Regions from separate parts of the Homo sapiens genome. Here region 1 is linked to region 2. Evidence: promoter capture Hi-C in human tissues and cell types (Jung and others, 2019). All regions are on one chromosome and are shown on one strand. The core of a region is centred on a gene start or on the middle of the fragment in contact, and the rest is flanking DNA. Distances in the headings are between cores, read along the strand shown. Region 1 overlaps SMOX (spermine oxidase). Region 2 holds the start of GFRA4 (GDNF family receptor alpha 4).

Evidence for each region. The method cuts DNA at HindIII sites, captures the fragments that hold promoters and counts their contacts. A contact is called where the count stands out against the background at its distance.
Region 1: a contact is called between a fragment that was not itself captured here and the fragment with the promoter of GFRA4 in region 2, in 2 of the 25 tissues and cell types used here (dorsolateral prefrontal cortex and spleen).

What each region holds. Positions count from the first base shown.
Region 1 is chr20:4,181,479-4,187,067 of GRCh38, reverse strand. SMOX (spermine oxidase) reads right to left here. Exons shown (of 7, transcript NM_175839.3): 4 at 5,092-5,265; 5 at 4,220-4,979; 6 at 3,414-3,574. Among named protein-coding and RNA genes, the nearest start is that of LINC01433, 8.8 kb to the left of the region's middle. The HindIII fragment of the contact is 6,680 bases long and covers 1-5,589 here.
Region 2 is chr20:3,661,059-3,666,482 of GRCh38, reverse strand. It overlaps GFRA4 (GDNF family receptor alpha 4), which reads left to right and starts at 3,084. Exons shown (of 6, transcript NM_022139.4): 1 at 3,084-3,129; 2 at 5,194-5,424. The coding sequence starts at 3,084. The HindIII fragment of the contact is 25,120 bases long and covers 1-5,424 here.

The DNA of each region.
Region 1 (5,589 bases), core at 1,466-3,965, 520 kb before region 2:
CTTGAGGCCATTAGGAGTCCCGGCTCTGTGGTCTCAAAGGCTCTTTGTGCCTCTTACTTGTCAACTTGAGGCAGGTGGTTTAACCTCCCTAAGCCTTGCTTTTCTCATCTTCCAAATGGGTTTATACCACCTACTTCGGAGGGTGGTTGTAAGGATTAAGGGAAATCATGTATCTAAAGCACTTAGAACCTGGAAGAACAAAGCACTCAATAAAGTCGGTGGTAATTTGACAAACCTTTACGGCGCCCCTGTTAGCATCCAGGGGCTGTTCTGGGCACTTGGAAGAGAAAAGGTGACCAGGCTGCTGCTTTGTGGAGCTTCCATGCTGGTGAGGAAGCCAGACATGAAACCCAATTACTAAACAGCGTCATATGTGATGGAATGGGTGTTTGCACAAGGCGCCGAAAGCCCAGAAAAGAGGCCCAGTGTCAGGGGATCCCACAAAGCTTCCCAGAGGACAGGACCTTTGAACTGGTTCTCGGAAGATGCTGAGTGAACGGACAGGCAAAGGACATTTCAGACAGAGGGAAAGGTGGGGGCAAAAATGTACCAAAGCAGGCCTTGCTCGGGGGACAGTGAGAATTTTGGTACAGCCAGGGCTCGGCCTTGAGAAAGCAGGCTGTCTAGGTGAGGTCTAGGCAAGGTACAAGTTCTTGCACCCCAAGTTTGCATTTGGACTTTATCCTAGTTCCTCTCAAATTCAAGGTGCAAGGCACCAGCTGTGGATCCTGATAAAATGCAGTTTTTATTTATTATTTTTGAGACAGTGTCTCACTCTATTGCCCCAGTTGGAGTGCAGTAACATGATCACAGCTCCACTGCAGCCTCAACTTCCTGGGCTCAAGCAATCCTCCCATCTAAGCCTCCTAAGTAGTTGGGACTACAGGCACACACCACCACACCTGGCTAATTTTTTTTTAAATTTTTTGTTGAGATGGAGGTCTTACTTTGTTGCCCAGGCTGGTCTTGAACTCCTGAGCTCAAGCCATCCTCCCACTTCGGCCTCCCATAGTGCTGGGATTATGGGCAGGAGCCTGCATCCCTGGCCAGAATGCAGTTTTTAATCCAGCAGGTCTGGGGTGGGCTGAGAGTCTGCATTTCTTTTTATTTATTTATTTATTTGTGTGTGTGTGTGTTTAGGGCGCCAGGGGTTGTTGTTTTTTGGTTTTTGTTTTGAGACAGGGTCTCGCTCTGTCACCCAGGCTGGAGTGCAATGGCATGATCTCAACTCACTGCAACCTCCGCCTCCCAGCTTCAAGCAATTCTCATGCCTCAGCCTCCCAAGTAGCTAGAACTACAGGTGTGCACCACCATGCCTGGCTAATTTTGTATTTTTAGTAGAGACAGGGTTTCGCCATGTTGGCCAGGCTGAGAATCTGCATTTCTTTTTATTTATTTATTTATTTGTGTGTGTGTGTGTTTAGGGCGCCAGGGGTTGTTGTTTTTTGGTTTTTGTTTTGAGACAGGGTCTCGCTCTGTCACCCAGGCTGGAGTGCAATGGCATGATCTCAACTCACTGCAACCTCCGCCTCCCAGCTTCAAGCAATTCTCATGCCTCAGCCTCCCAAGTAGCTAGAACTACAGGTGTGCACCACCATGCCTGGCTAATTTTGTATTTTTAGTAGAGACAGGGTTTCGCCATGTTGGCCAGGCTGAGAATCTGCATTTCTAACTAGCTCCCAGGTGAGGCTGGTACTGATCTACCTACCCTGAGTAGTGAGGCTGTAATCCCACCACCAAGGAGCCCACAGAGGCTGTTACACTGAAAGGGGTGTTGTATACTGTGTCAGCCTTGACCTCCTGGGCTCAAGTGATCCTCCCACCTCAGCCTCCCAAGTAGCTGGGACCACTCCCACATCCAACCATTCTCCTCTTTCTCCTCAATAACAAAGTCCTGATTTTTAACTGGGTCCATTGCCATCCAGAATAAAAATGATACTGCCCAGCCTCTGTAGCAGCTAGGTGCAGTCATGTGTCTATGTTCTGGCCAATAAGCATTAAAGTGCACTGTTGCTTAGAGACACAGCTGACTCAGCTCCAAGGGTTCCCTTCTTGCCATCTGCCTTTCCTCTTCCTTCTAGCCTAAGATGCAGATGTGAGAACTGGAGCTTCTGCAGCCCTCTTGGACCACAAGATGGTCTTGAAGATGAGAGCCAGGTGCTAATGATACGGGATCCTGCTGCCTGCCTCCAGATTTCCTTTTGATTTTCCTTGTTTAAGTCACAGTTGTGTTTGCTTTGCTTTGCTTTTTGCTACATGCACTAGTCCTAACTGATGCAAGTGAAAAGAGAAGATTTGCTTTTTAGGAGGATGGCTGTGGCAGCAGAAAGGGCCTTTCTGAGGACCTCTCTCTCTTTAAACACCAGCCCTTTTCTCTCTCCATCTGAGCACCGTTGGGCAGGCATAGTAGATGCTGGTTGACTGAACTCTTCTTCACCAATTATACCAAATAATTGTTTTAAATATAACTGTTGAGTTTTAACATTTACTGTGTGTGTCTACTTGATGGGGGAAACTCAAAATCCACTTTATGGGAGCATAAATATATATTTCAGATTTTTTTTTTTTAGTGTACAGTTGGCATATTGTGGAGCATCAGTAATCTAAACTTTATTTTCTGAAATATATTGGGAAAACATTTCCATTGAATCAGTGCTGTCCAATAGGACATTCCTATCGCTATGTACTTTACTATGGTAACCTCTAGCCACATGTGGCTGTTGAACTTGAAATGTGACTAGTGCAACCAAGGAACAAAAACTTTACTGTATTGGCCAAGTGTGGTGGCTCATTCCTATAATCCTAGCACTTCAGGAGGTTGAGGCGGGAGGACAGCTTGAGCCCAAGAGTTCAAGACCAGCCTAGCAGTATGATGAAACCCCATCTCTACCAAAAAAAAAAAAAAAGTACAAAAATTAGCTGGACATGGTGGCGTGCCGGCATGCCTGTGGTCCCAGCTAGTTGGGAGGCTGAGGTGGGAGGATCACTTGAGCCCAGGAGGTCAAGGCTGCAGTGAGCTGTGATCACACCACTATACCCCAGCCTGAAGTGTAGACAGAGCAAGACCCTGTCTCAAAAAAGAAAAAAAAAATACTGTATTAATTTAAATTTTTAATAAATTAATTTAAATTGAAAGTGGCTGATAGCTACCGTATTGGCCAGCACAGCATGGAATAGCTCAGTTTTCATAACATCAAGAAAACATTTTAAGTTTCAATTTGATTCCATTTTTTCTTCCAGATATTAAGTGCACACTTTTTTCCTTGTGTTCTCTCTCATTACAGAAGCTACTCCATCCCTGCCTCACCTGAGCACCCCTTAGTGAACACTACCCTAGCCCTCCTCACCCTGGACCGGACACACATACAAAATACACCCACAACTCCCCTCCTCACCCCAAACGCCCCGCTTACCGCTGTCTTTGAGCTCTCTGTGTACGGCAGGGGCTTGGCCAGCTTCTCCACATCCGCCCCGCTGGAGCCCACCTGCGTGTATGAATAGGAGCCGCGGAAGTAAGGGTTGCTGCCCCAGGCCGAGCGCAAGATTCGCCGAGGTTTTGGAATGTTGGGGTTCCCTGATGGAGAGTCAGAAAAGCCAAGAGGAGGGAGGATAAGAAATGGCTGCATATGGAAGATGACCCCAAAGGGACAACCCCCCACCCCACCTCCAGGGCTCCGGGAGGACCAGACTGCCAGGGGTAGGCACGGAGGATAGAAGAGGAAGGAGGGAGGCTGGGGCTCGAGCTGTGTACCCACTCAGCGCCTCCTGTGACCCCCGGCAAAACGCTCCACCTTACTTTTCCTATCTATCTGAAAACACATGACACATAATCATGTTTCCCCGCCTAATATCGGGGGTTCTCGTGAGGTCCTCCTGGAATAGTGGGTGAAAAATGTTGAGCTGAAAGACTCAGAGAGTAAAAGGCAAATCCAGCTCTTAGCAACAGAGCACAATGGGCGGTGATCTCTGAGTGTTTTACCATCAGCCTTTAGAAAGGGGGAAGAGACACAGCGCCCATAATTCTGAGTGTGTCAAGTTCTAAACTGTCAGCAACTGAAGAGCCTTTGGCTGAATGTGGCACCCTGCAGTGGCTCTCCCGTGGGGCACAGCATCCGAGCTTCACGGTCTGGGGAGGAGAGAGCTGCCATGGGTCCACCAGAGGAGGGCAGGTGAGGAAGAAGCAGGGTGGGGGAAGCGGGTCGTGGGGCACGTGGCGCACCTGTGAACTGACGCAGCATCTCCGTGCAGATCTCGGCCACTGCCTCGTCATCACACTTCTCCATGACGAGGGCCTCCTCCCCGCAGATCCAGCCGCTCAGCACATGGCCGTAGCGCTCAGGCGGGTAGAGGACATCAAAGCCGCAGATCTTGCGGTACCAGAGCTCAGGTGGGTAGGTGAGGGTGTGGCTCTCTGCTTCGTCCTCCCACACAAACTGTAGGCTGTTGCACTCAGGGCCCCAGAAGGGCTCCTCGAATTCCAGAAAGATCTTGTCGGTGGTGCCAATGCCCAGGCGGTGGATGGCAGCCACCTTCTCTGTGGGCAGGCCTGGCCGGAAGAAACTGGTGTACTGCCTCTTTAGCACACCTAGCGACACGGTCACAATCACATGGTCCGCCGGGATCAGCTCACAGTCCTCGCACTCCACCACCACCGACCACTGCTCATCCTCATCCCACCTGCCCCCCCGGGGCTCCTCTCCACCCTGGCCACCCTCCCCAGTGTCGTGATTGTGGTCGCCCTCACCCCGGGGCTCAATCTCAGGGCCTCTGGGGCGGGCTGAGGCCTGGTCCCAGTGAATGCAGCGGACAGGTTTCCCTAGCTGGATGACGTGGGCAGGGATGCCCTCCGCCAGCAGCTCCACAACCCGCATGAAGCCCGAGGGGATGATGTGGTGAGCGCCGGGGATCTCGGTCCACTCCCCGAAGGCGCTCAGGGACACCTCGTCCATGCTGTGTGAGCTGCTCTCACAGCTCTCCACCTGCGGGAAGACCCAAGGAGAAGCCAGGTGACCGCCGGGGTTGGGCAGGGGTAGGAGCAGCGTAGCCCTCCTCAGACCCAGACGCCCCCAGAATCCGTCTTCCTCAAGATACCTTCAGGTACTGCTGGATCATGGCGAGCTTCAGGCGCTTGGTAGCCTCTGGGTCGTCAGGGTCATTCCTGATGCGGTTACGCACCTCCTCTCGGGTGAACACCCCCACGCTATTTTGACTTTCAGCATTGACTGGTTTATCGTGCCGGAAGAACTCCTGGGTCAAGTTATAGACCTGCCAGAGAGACCCCATGAGACTGAAAACACCTCATCACACCTCCATCTCAAACAGAAGGCCCCCAACCCAAACCCACCAGTTCCCAGGTGTCCCCTGGATGCACTGAGCCCCTGGTCTCTGTCCCTTAGGGATCCGATGTTGCACTCAATGCTGCACCAAAAGCCAAGGCCCCGGGCAGCCACCTCCTCGCCTCCGGCCTGTCGGGGAGGTGGGATAAGCCCCGGAGGTTTTCTTGCTGGGCCCTCACTTAGGACAATGTGAAACATTTGGTGCCCATACAGTCTGTGGGAAAGAAGCCACCCCTCATGGACTCTGCATGGG
Region 2 (5,424 bases), core at 1,835-4,334:
GATCACCTGGCTGTGCTGCAGAACTGGAGAAGAGAAGCTCAGCAGAAAGGAGCTGGCATGGGGCCAACAGCAGAAAAGCAGGAGGCACGCAGAAGTGACTGGGAAGCAGGAGGGTAGGCATGGACCCTGAGGCTGAGCAGGAGGTACTGAGGGGCAGAGTGGACGCTGAGCTGGGGGTAGCGAGCGAGCCCAGCTCAGCTGTGACGCCCTCTGTTTGGCCACCCAACTACCAGCTACTTGGGCTGCCCCGGGAGGAACTGGGCTTCCTCTGACATTCTGTGGCCTGCGGCCATCTGTCACACCTTCTTCTCTCTCTGCCCCTCCCTTGACTTGTGGCACCCACAGACAGGTGGGAGAGTGTACCTGCCCTGTGTGGTCAGAGCTTGGTTTTGAGTTTCCTTCCCTCACCCCTCTTTCCTCCCACACGCCAAAACACAAGAGGATGTGTCAGAGGCCTGTGAACCAGAGCAACTCCATCCTGAATAGGGGCTGAGCAAAATAAGGCTGAGACCTACTGGGCTGCGTTTCCAGACAGTTACAGCATTCTGCGTCACAGGATGAGATAGGAGATACAGGTCATAAAGACCTTGCTGATAAAATAGTTTGCAGTAGGCCAGGCGCGGTAGCTCACGCCTGTAATCCCAGCACTTTGGGAGGCTGAGGTGGGCGGATCACCTGAGGTCAGAAGTTCGAGACCAGCCTGGCCAACAAGGTGAAACCTCATCTCTACTAAAAATACAAAAACTAGCCAGGCATGGTGGTGTGTGCCTGTAATCCCAGCTACTTGGGAGGCTGAGGCAGGAGAATCGCTTGAACCCAGGAGGTGGAGGTTGCAGTGAGCTGAGATCGTGTCACTGCACTCCAGCCTGGAGCGAGACTCCGTCTCAAAAAACAAAACAAACAAAAAAATCAGCTTGCAATATAGAAGCTGGCTAAAACCCACCCAAACCAAGATGGTGATGAGAGTGACCTCTGGTCGTCCCCACTGCTACACTCCCACCAGCGCCATGACAGGTTACAGATGCCATGGCAGTATCAGGAAGTTACCATATATGGTCTAAAAAGGGGAGACATGAACAATCCACCCCTGTTTAGCAGATCATCCAGAAACAACCATAAAAATGGGCAACCAGCAGCCCTCAGGGCTGCGCTCTCTATGGAGTAGCCATTCTTTTATTCTTTTACTTTCCTAATAAATGTGCTTTCACTTTATGGACTCGTCTCAAATTCTTTCTTGCACGAGATCCAAGAACCCTCTCCTGGGGTCTGAATCTGGACCCCTTTCCGGTAACAGATGTCGTAGAGTGAAGCACAACCACTGCAGGGGCATCTTGGTTTACATTTTGCTTCAGCGGCCATGGTTAGCACAGCGGAAAGCACATCACAGTCTTCTGATTCATTAAAAAAATTAGGAAATGGACCACCACAAACCACAGACAGATGTACTGAGACAGGATAGGTAGTCAAGAAAGTGACCATGTTCTAGGCGCGCAGCAGCAACTGTGGTGACCGTACAGTCAACAAGCCTCAGCACTGGCATTGCAATTGAGCTCATTCAAGCAAAGCTATCTTCAGCAGGGACTTCTCCCTCTAGGCAGCAAGCGCATTTTTATTTTACCTGTCCTCAAACTGATCCTTTGCTCCTTATAATAGTAAGGAACACACCCCTGTGTGGAGATTTAAGATGCTAATGAGGCCAAGCGCAGTTGCTCACGTCTGTAATTCCAGCACTTTGGGAGGCAGAGGTGGGCGGGTCACTTGAGGTTAGAAGTTCGAGACCAGCCTGGCCAACATGGTGAAACCTTGTCTCTACTAAAAATACAAAAATTAGCCGGGCATGGTGGCGGGCGTCTGTAATCCCAGCTACCTGGGAGGCTGAGGCAGAAGAATCGCTTGAACCTGGGAGGCGGAGGTTGCAGTGAGCCAAGATCGTGCCACTGCACTCCAGCCTGAGGGAGAGAGAGAGCAAGACATCGTTTTTGTTTGTTTGTTTGTTTGTTTGTTTGTTTTTTAAAAAAAAGTCAAGACAAATCATAGTGGGGGCTTTTCTGGTCACTTTTTAAATCTTAGTGTTGAGACTTTATTTGAGACAGGGCCTTACTCTGTTGCCCAGGTTGGATGAGATTTTTAACCTCAATATTTACTTATAGAATAACTTTTTGGTTAGTCAAAACAATGCTGTGTCTCATTCTGATCAGAATAAAACATCAGACAACTCAAGAGAAACATTCTGCAAAATAACTGGCCAGGATTCTTCAAAAGTGTCAAGGGTAAAGATAAGGAAAGATGAAGGAACTCCCAGATTGAGGAGAATAAGGAGACAACTGTGATGTGGGATCCTAGAATGGATCTTGGAACAGAAAAAGGACATTAGTGGAAAAATGAGAAATGCAAAACAGTCTACAGTTTCGTTAACAGGATTGTACCAAGGTTAGTTTCCTAGCTGTAATGATTGGACTATGATTAAGTAAGATGGACCATCAGGGGAAGCTGGGTGAAGGGTGTAAGGAAAATGCTTACATTTTCCAACTTTTCTGCAAGTCTAAAATTAGTCAACAATAAGAAGTTTAAAATAGGCCAGGCATGGTGGCTCACACCTGTCATCCTAGCACTTTGAGAGGCCGAGGTGGGAGGATGGTTTGAGCCCAGGAGTTCAAGACCAGCCTGCGCAATAGAGCGAGACCCCAACTCTATTCAAAAAAATTTTTTTAAGTTTAAAATAGAATTATATAAAAAAGGAAAAGAAAAATGCTGTTTCATAGCGTTCCTAGTTTAGCATGGGAGAGACCAGGTCTCCCTGGGTGGTTGTCTGTGTGTTGCTGGGTGTGCGTGGCAGGGCTAGTGTGTTGGGGTCCGTCTAGGCACATTCAGGCGCCGAATCCCGTGGCTCCCAGGTTTACCTGACGGTGCAGCCTGGGGTGGAGACTTAATGAGGGCGGGGAGTTGCTGCAGCAAAGGCTCCTCCCAGGGGTATCAGCGCAGACAGCTGGGTTTTCACTGTGCTCCTGCTCCAGAGGCACTAGGAAGGGGGCGCCTATCAGACTAGGGCTCTGCCAGCCATCCTTCTCTGTTGAAGGTCCAGCATGGTCCGCTGCCTGGGGCCTGCGCTGCTGCTGCTGCTGTTACTGGGTGAGCGCCCCTCTCTTCCCCTGGACCCCGAACCCTGGCCTCTCTGTCCCTGCTCCTCAGTGACAAGGTGGGAGGGCAAGATATTCCAGGAAAAGCTGAACCACAGGAAGGGTTGCCAGTGAGAGGCCTGTGCGCACGGCTTGGGGACCCCTGGCAATTGACCCCACTATGTGCTGAGCACCTCACCTCCCAGCCCCGTCAAGCCACCACCGCCATCCCCCTCCCGAGTCCAGCCTTGGCACCCGTGCCCCAGGAACTTTTGCCTATTGTCTGCCATCTCCCAACTCTCTCACCCTCCCCTCAGCCCCAGCCCTCCTACCCATCACACAGATTCCTTGGTGAATCTTCGGTGTTGTTCATCTGTTGTTCCACCTTCTTGGACTGCTCCGTCCCTGCATGGATGTCGCGGAGGGAGGGGTCACTTTACCGAGTGTAGTGTGGAAAGTGGAATCTGGTAAAGGTTTAAGGTGGAGGAGATCTTGCAGCTGAGATGAGCTGCTGTGAGGGTGGAGACTGGGTAAGGGTGTTCTGGGCAAGGGTGACAGGTAAGCAACAGGCAGAGGTGGGTTCAAACCCTTAGGCAACATCAGGTGCTGGTGTGTGCAGCTGAGACCTGAGGATGTGCCTGGCAAGGCTGTGAGAGGAAAGCAAAGTGTGCCCTTTGGGGAGGGGAGGAAGGGAGGACTCACCCCGCTGCCATCTATCCCCTCCACTCAGGGACCATTCTAAGCCCTCGAGCTATGTTCATCCTTCCTGCAGAGGCAGGTGCTGAAGTCACAGCAGGAATCACTCTCACCACGCGGTCCAATCCACAGCCTGAAAGACACAGCCATTGCCAGAGAGGCACCCTGCTCCCAGCCCTGGGGGGGGGATACCACCCCGTAGCCCCTGTGCACAAACACACAGGGAGATGGATGAGGGGCCAGGCTGTGCACGTCCACTCAGGCTGGGCACCAGAAAGGCTTCTAGTCTGAATGAGATGCTCCAGACTGGAGAACTTGTGGAGGCTGGGGGGGATTCGATTAGCCTGGTTTTTGTGACTCAAATCCTGGGAAGGGGCTGCCAAGTCCCAACTTCCAGTTATCCTGGCTCTATTTAGACACAGCCTGTGGGCATGTGGGCAGAGCTCACCCTCTGTCTACCCAACCCCTGGTGTGTGACTGGGGTGCCAGGCACCTTCTCTGTCTCCAGCAGGGTGTCACCTATCATGGGGCCTGGTCACTAAAACCACTGATGAACCCTTGGGTCCTGTGGCTCAGGACAAAGCCCGGCGGTGTGTCGTCAGGGACTTCTCTGAATCCACACCCTGGCAGCCAGGACTCAGTGGGTTCTTCAGTGGCCAGAGCTCTTGCATGAATCCGCTCTCCCCTGGCTGATGAAGGGTGGAGGGGCTGGAGGAAGCCAGTGCAGATGGGGCAGGATGACCTCGACTCAAGGGAGCATCAGGAAGGGCTGGAGAGGGGAGACACCCATGCAGGGGGCAGGAGGAGGAGCAGGAGGTCAGGAAGGAGGGAGAAACAGAAATCAATAGACCCACCCAAAGGGTCTCCATGGTGGAGGATAAGCGGCGAGGTGGAGGGGGTAGAGGAGGAAAGGTATGGCGTCACAGCCTGTCATTAAGAGACTAGGAGCAGCCACTGTCTTCTATGCCATCTCTGGTTTTAAAGTCTCCATTGGCCAGATCCCCAGAAAGCCTCATTGTTCCCCCGTCAGGTAGTGCCATTGAGTGTAGGAGGAGCCCCTGGACCCGTCTTTGGACGTGTGTGGCCGTTCTGGAGAAATGGTGGCGATGCTTGGGAAGGAGGGGCTTCAGCTTTTGGGGAAGGCCTGGCTCAGCCTCCATGCTCCCTCTCCATCCCTGACGTGTTGCAGAGCCCTCCAGAGCCCGCCGCTGCCCATCCCCACGACGGAGAGCCGATCAGTGCCAGTCGGCCCCGCCTTTGGGCCACACTCTATGCTTTCTCGGGTTTTCAGTGTCCCCCACCTTCCAGGGGCGTGGATGGGCTGGGTGAAGTGTGCATGCGGGGCGCACTGAGACCTGCAGCCTCCCCGCGCCTTTCCCAGGGTCGGCGAGCTCGGTCGGAGGGAACCGATGTGTGGACGCGGCCGAAGCCTGCACGGCGGACGCGCGGTGCCAGCGTTTGCGCTCCGAGTATGTGGCGCAGTGCCTGGGCCGGGCTGCGCAGGGGGGCTGTCCCCGCGCCCGCTGCCGCCGGGCCCTGCGCCGCTTCTTCGCCCGCGGGCCGCCCGCGCTCACCCACGCACTGCTCTTCTGCCCGTGCGCGGGCCCCGCGT